Regions from separate parts of the Homo sapiens genome. Here region 2 is linked to region 1. Evidence: promoter capture Hi-C in 16 types of primary human blood cells and fetal thymus (Javierre and others, 2016). All regions are on one chromosome and are shown on one strand. Each heading gives the region's core, a stretch centred on a gene start or on the middle of the fragment in contact. The rest is flanking DNA. Distances are from core to core; before and after follow the strand shown. Region 1 holds the start of OXR1 (oxidation resistance 1). Region 2 has its middle 88 kb from the start of ABRA.

What was found. Contacts are between HindIII fragments. The CHiCAGO score rates a contact against its expected background, and 5 or more counts as called.
Region 2: a contact is called between a fragment that was not itself captured here and the fragment with the promoter of OXR1 in region 1, in 1 of 17 cell types (naive CD4 T cells). The highest score is 5.6, in naive CD4 T cells.

What each region holds. Positions count from the first base shown.
Region 1 is chr8:106,268,717-106,272,375 of GRCh38, reverse strand. It overlaps OXR1 (oxidation resistance 1), which reads right to left and starts at 2,186. Exons shown (of 17, transcript NM_001198533.2): 1 at 2,009-2,186. RefSeq lists silencers at 1,832-2,191, 2,212-2,461. The HindIII fragment of the contact is 2,469 bases long and covers 171-2,639 here.
Region 2 is chr8:106,856,594-106,860,225 of GRCh38, reverse strand. No RefSeq gene overlaps it. Among named protein-coding and RNA genes, the nearest start is that of ABRA, 88 kb to the right of the region's middle. The HindIII fragment of the contact is 332 bases long and covers 1,118-1,449 here.

The sequences.
Region 1 (3,659 bases), core at 937-3,436:
TCCTTCCAGAGTTGCCTTCATCCTCATTTCCTGCATCTGGTAAAGTCTCTCTGAAAATGTGAAACCGACGACAGAACATGGCAAGCTGGATGGAGAAGCCGACAACCCCTCCCCCACTCTCACCCAACGCCGGGCCGGTCCTGTTTCGGATCCTGCACACTGTGGAAGCTTCTTGCTTCCTTGTTTTGGTGGGTGAAATCTTTGCTGTTCAAAAAGGTGTTTTTGCACAGAAATTTTAGGACGTGTTTATTCTAGTAACGTAGTGTTTTCTTTTTTCGCTATATTTACATGTGGAGAACTCCAGGGAGGCCCCCACCAGAGATCCCTTAAATGCTGGTCTCTGTCCCTGCTTCTCGGCCCCGCTGGCCTTTTGGAGCCATCGTGCTTCCCAGTCCGCAGGCAACAATCACAGCATCACCTGCAAGGGGCAGCAAAGTGAACCGCGGACCCCTGGAGTGACGCCTTGGAGATGGACCCTTTGGATTTGGGAACCCCTCTGACGGCCGGGACTCCCAGGATTCCCTTCCATAGAGGGAGTCCACGGTGGTCGCAGCCGGCGGCTGAGTCCTCCTTAGAGTGCCGAATCAGAGAAGACCCGCATCAGGTTTGGGATGTAAGTGGAGAGGGAGAGGTTAGAAAGAGGCATCATTGGATAAGCAAAGAATGCTACCCTGGGAAAAGGAGGCAGAAAAGACGTAGGGAAGTATGTTCCCCTTAATCCCTTCCCCGTGCCGCCCGTAGATCCCTGGATCTTCTTGTCACGGAGACAGGCTGCAGCCACACACGCGACCCCGGGCCGGAAACATGCACACGCGCGCGCACACACGCACACACACGCCCCGCTGCGAGTTGCACGCTGCAGACTTCTGCCTGACTTCCCGGCCAAAAACACCGCACCTCTGGGGCCAGACCACGAATTCCTGTGGCCTAGAACTGACACCACTCCCCCTACCCCCGCAATACACACATTCAGACCCTACACTGCACCCTGAGCGTGCCGGGAACCACTGAACGGAAGCCCGAGCAGCTCCCCCCGTAAACGACTACCTTCCCCACTGCCTAATGTCTATTTAAATCTCCTAAAGCTCGCCTACAGCGAGCCGAGGTGCGTCCAAGCCGGGTAGTAGACGGAGGAGGAGCCAGGGGTGAAAGTGAACCTCAGATAACAGTACTAAATCACTATTCAAGGGGCGGCACGGGGAAGCCTCCAACCCTCTCCTGAACCTTTCAGGCCCTACCAGCAGCCCAGTTCCTCCGCCCGATACTGCACAGCTCCCCCCCTCTTCACCCAAATCCCTCAGCGATTTTCCAGTCGGCCCTCCAGGCCACTTTCTACATCCATCCTTTCCCCAGCCAGTTCCCAACATGTGGCCTCGGGTACTCTAGCGGGAGACAGATTCCAGGCTGACTCCATCATGATGTGCCCCCTAGCCTTTTACTGATTCCCCAAATTATCCGAATCCACTCGCCCCTCCGGAGCCCACTGTCCCTTCCACCGGCGTCCTTTGCTCTCGTCCAAATCCGCTTTCCACGCGCCCCACTTTCCACCCATCCTCCTGCCGTTCTGTTCAAGACACGCTTGCCCTCCACTCTGCGCCCCCAACACTGCTCTCACGCTGCTCCCACTCTATCCCCCGGCGACACCCCCACTTTCCTTCTGCGGCTGTCCCTGGCCGGGCTCCCGCGCCCCAAACCCAGCCTCCCCGCCCGGTCTCCTCCCTCGCCGCCCGGTCTCCTCCCTCGCCGCGCGGTCTTTCCTTCTTCCCAAGTCCGCCCTCTGGGCCCCCGCTGGAGCTAGTTCTGCCCTCCTGCTCTGCCCGTCGTCCCCGCTCGAGCATCCCAATGGCCACCCGCTTTCAAATTGGCTAAGTGGCTCGGAGAGGCGCCAGGCACAGGGGGCAGAGGCCAGCCGGCTCTCCCGGGCGCCAGCCGCGCCTCTCGCTATCCCTCCTGGACTCCCCCGGGCGCCAAGCCCTCGCCCTAACGCCCAGCAGCCTCACAAACTTACTTGCGGGTCGCCAGGAGGGGGCTGCGGTGAGCGGCGGCGGGCCCCGCGGCGGCGAGTGCGCCCCTCTCGGCGGGGCTGGGCGGCGCGGCGCCGGCGCTGAGCTCCTGTGGCCGCGAGGTGAATGGGCTCAGCCTGACGCAGCCCAGCTCTAGCCCCGCTGCTGCCGGCGCCGCTGAGCGCTTGCAGACATGCTCAGTTTCCGGACCTGCCCGCGTGGAAGCTACCAAGAGCCGGCAGCGGCGGGGGAGACTGAGAGGAGCCGTGGGGCGCCGCGAGCCGGAGGCTACCACGCCGGGGGCGGGGGGAGGCACGCACCGCTAAAAATAGCTCCTGCGGAAGCCACGCTGGCTTAGCGCGCACCCCTCCCCGCGCGCGGCCCCTCTGGCTGGGGTTCGGGTTTCTGCTCTGGCTACCGCGGTGGGGACCCCAGCTCGCCGAGTCCTGCCAGGCGTCTGCCTGCACTAGGATCCCCATCCCGGTGGAGACGGCGCCTCCAGTTCAGGCGCCCACTCGAATAGCCTGGACTAAGCCAGAGCTGCCCCGATTTCGGGGTCCCGCCTGTCGGGCAGCTCTAATACTAGGCTCTCCCTAGAGAAGCAGAGGAAAGTTTTGTTAAAGCGATAAAAAAGCTTCTGCAAGGAAAGCTGCAAGGAAATTTGTTCAGATTTACGGAGGAAAAAAATGTTCTTCAGATGCTTTGGTTGCTGGGAAAAACAAGGAGGAAAGGAAGGCGAAGTCTGACAGCCTAGAAAGGGACCCAAGGCAGCTTGGAGCGGGCTGAAGGGGGTTCTGCAAAGAGCTTCTAAAATTCAGAATTCTTTGCAAGGCGTTTGTGACTCCTCATTCCGCAGTGTTTTGCATAATTCGTTGACACCCCACCCTGACCTTGGAGATTTTCTTGTTCCTGTCACCTGAACTGTAATTTACTTTCTCCGCATGCTGCCTTCACTCCTTCCCCCTCCAACCCGGTTTTAAATTGCAAAACGAAAAGGGCGCAAACTCTGGATGGGTAGATTCCCAGACCTGAACTGGAACCTGGCTGTTCTGTAACCCTGAGGAAAGGAGCTGGTCCTGTTGCCGAGTTCGGGATGTATCCCAGATCTCCTGTGCATCCAGCAAACACTTCAAGCGTAGGAGCCTTTCAGCCACCTCACCTGCAAATTAGCTATTTCCCGCTATTAGTGTTCACTCTATTCTACCTTAATTTCTGATCATTTATTATTATTTTTTAATTCTGTTCTTTAAAGTAAGAGGTACAGATATTTCCTGGGTCAAATTTCCGTCTTGTTTCACTCACCTCTCACAGCCACCCAATGAGAGAATCATTATTATTCCCATTTGACAGACAGGGATGTTGAAATTTAGCGACAGGAGCTCATCGCTTGTCTGGAATAATAGAGTGTTGAACCTAGGGTCGGCCAGACTAGAAACTTTCATGGTTTCCGCATAACCTATTTCCCCGAGTCAATAGCTTTACCTGAGATAAGGGATCAAGAAAATTAGATACTATTCTGAGTGGCGTGGCGTGTCAACAGTAAGCCGATTGATAAGCCGATTGCGGGTTTTGTTCTCCATTATTTTTACCTAATTTCTTTACGAGCATTCGCAGCTTAAATTTTCTGTTATGTTGAAACTGATAGCGTTTAATTTT
Region 2 (3,632 bases), core at 34-2,533, 590 kb before region 1:
TAAATAAAATTTTATATAGCATGTTTTTCTTTTATTTATAAAATATGGCTTTTTTAGGCATATATTTTATATATTTTTCTTTGGACATGTTTTTATGTTTTAACTACTTTTGTATTTGTTTACAGTAAGAACTTAGGCTTGCATCTATATGTTACTATTTTCAGTATTTAATATCCATCTTTTTATTATCTTATTTGTCCTTTTTTATTTTATTATGTCTTATTCCAAAGTATATTTAAATTAATTTTTTAAAAGTAGATAGGTGGTATATTTGAATTTTTTACTTTATGAGACTTTCTTTTTTATTTTATATTTCATATACTTACATTTTCACATTTCACATATACGTTGGATAAAGAGCAAAAAACTGGGTCACAAATTTTTCCCAAGAATGGATAATGGGTTGTGCCTTTAGAGTCTAATGCTAATGTTTTCTTTTTCTTTTTCTTTTAAATAGAGACAGAATCTCACTATGTAGGCCAGGCTGGTCCTGAACTCCTGGCCTCGAGCAATCTTCCCATCTCAGCCTCCAAAAGTGTTGGGATTACAGGCATGAGCCACCACATCTGGCCTAACTCTAATGTAAAGTGTGGGCCGGGCCCGGTGGCTCACGCCTGTACTCCCAGCACTTTGGGAGGCCGAGGTGGGTGGATCACTTGATGTCAGGAGTTTGAGTTCGACCAGCCTGGCCAACATGGAGAAACTCCATCTCTACTAAAAATACAAAAAATTAGCAGGGTGTGGTGGCAGATGCCTGTAATCCCAGCTACTTGGGAGGCTGAGGCAAGAGAATCGCTTGAACCCGGGAGGCGGAGGTTGCAGTGAGCCGAGGTTGCGCCATTGCACTCCAGCCTGGGCAACAAGAGTGAAACTCCACCTCAAAAACATAAATAAATAAATAAAAATGTGAGACCAGTTTCATTTCCGTTCATTTGTAACTACTCTGGTATGCTTCTGTGTTGTTTTTTTTTTTTTCTGCCTGGGTACTTAAAGAGAGTGCTGTCTCTGAAATTTAGCAATTCATCAGGGTATGACTAAGGGTTGTTTTAATCCATTTTACTTGTTATTTGATGAGCCTATTTTATCTATAAATGGTGTTTCTTAGGTCAGTAAAGCTTTATGTTCTCATGTGTTTTATTTTATTTATTTATTTTGAGATGGAGTCTCACTCTGTTTCCTAGGCAGGAATGCAGTGGCACGATCTTGGTTTACTACAACCTCTGCCTTCCAGGTTCAAGTGATTTGATTCTGAGGTTATTTTTAATATTTATTATGTCCTTCATTGCTTCTATTGAAACTATAAGTCATGCTACATCATTTACGGTTTTGTATATGATTTTTATTGTTTTTACCTCCACAAAAGCCACTCCTTTTTTATATTTTCTTGTCTTATATGTATATGCTAAGCATCTTCTTATAGAAGTTTTCTGTGTTTTACACAGAAAAGCTTATAAACTTTGCTTTAGTATTTTTCAGAATTTTCCTCTACAATTTGAAAAAAAAGTTCTCATTCTTTACACTGTACAATCTTTCTTAAGTACAATATTTATTTTATCTGATTTCTTATCTTTAAATGAGGAACACTCTATTCAGGTCAACTGTTTCAAAAAAAAAAAAAAAAAAAAAACGACAGCATGAGAACATTCTGCTTGAGATTCTGAACTTGGCATTCAAGTTGACGTCTGGAGCATGTTAGAGCATTCCAAAGCCAATGAAGCCTATAAAATGTTCCTCCCACCCCAACCCCAAGAGGAGTTCACCAGCAGAAGGCATCTTGATACACCAGAGGATAAAGGTTCTGCCCACGGATTCCGGGGCCCGACTGCCCAGGCTCAAATCCTGGCTCCACCCCTCTTAGGAGTATTGTTACCTAGATGCCTGCTTTGGAGAAGGCCCTCTGGGGCTGTGGTGAAGGAAGTATTTCATAAGCTTTAATGGTCTCATCTCTACAATAGGGATAATGACAGTTTTTTCCTCGTAGGGCTGAGAGCATAAAATAAATTTATCTATGAGCATAAAATAAATAAATCTGCAAGAATGCCTGGCACGTAGTGATGTTATACAGCATGGTGGCTGTTTTAAGGAAACTTTAGCTTTGAAGGAGATTGTGAGATTGGCAGCCTTAGCATTTGTACAGATCTATGCCCTGTCAAATAGGAACTGAAACAACTAGAGCAATAAATACCACCTGGTGCGCAGATGATCCACTCCACACTGAGGAAACTGCCTCCACAGCGCTGTTTCGTCTTTGGTTGTGTGCTACCCGTGACGTCATGTTCTAACAATTCTGTAAATCCCAGGGTGTATATTCGCACCCATTAAAATCCTCCCATGGAAAATGGGTGAGTAATGATGTAAGTATCCTTACTATCTGGCTGGCAGTGAGCAACAATGAAATGAAAAGACAGCTGTGTGTTTGGAATTTGAGACCTCTGGAAGGATAGAGAGCTGTACCGAAAAGGCAAATGAGATAGAAGATGGAGAGGCACAGGGCTGTGGGCCAAGCAACAGAACAGACTTGAAGTGAACTGATTGTTCCAGAGAAACAGACCTATGATGTTTCAAAGGACTCAGTAAAGAGAACACAGGTTGCAAAAGAATAAAAATGCTAAGGAGTCAACCGTCCCATGAAGGACATTAAAGGACAGGGCAGAGGCGCTGCCTCACTCCGCATTCACACAGACAGCATCTACTGTGTGCGGAACACCACAGAGGCCCAAAGCATCACCAGATATAATCGATCGCTTGCATGGTGGGGCACACCTGTAATCCCAGCTTTTTGGTAGGCTGAAGCAGGAGGATCTCTTGAGTCCAGGAGTTCAAGTCCAGCCTGAGCAACACAGCAAAAACTGTTTCTTAAATTCAAAAACAAAAACAAACAAAAAAATCAACAGTGAATGTAGAGAAAGGGATTCTCTGCCCCTCTACATATAAAAAAGATTCTGGAAGGGAATAAAATTAAGAGTGGTACAGGTTTGTGTTGATACAGAAGGAGTAGGAAGAGGTGGGAAATGGTTATGCTCACATTTATTTGGCCACAAACCTGGCCCACCCCATTCTGCTCCTGTGATGTTTATACAAAGTAAAAATGCCAAAGGTGAAGCACTTATGTACTTTATACATATGTGCTTCTCTACCTGATCTTCTCTCACTGTTTATTATCAACAGCCTTTTTTGTTTCAAACCTAACCATTATAGATTTTAATGATTTATAGATTTTTTAAAAACTAAACAAACTACCTAAATAAAATATATTTTGACCCATAGATATTAAAGAAGTTAAGAAAACATCATAGATTCTGTATGTTCCTCCAATCTAACCAGATCAAGTATAGTTTTCTGGTAATTTTGTTTGAAATTGCTTCAATAATTTACATATTTAGGTAAAAACTCACTTTGATCTTAACCATCTAAATAATTCATGTCCATTTTTAAAACCACAATATTTCCTCCTTGGTTCAATACACACGGCTTTGCTATTACCTTGAGCAGTCATGGTTTAGATCGAATCTGATGCAATTCTGACTATGTCCTCAAGATGGCAGGCGGGGATTTAGACTGAGCTTCAGGGTTCTAGCAAAGCCTTTTTACAGCTTTTTTTCTCTGAGTTAGGTCTCCTGTTACTGATTACT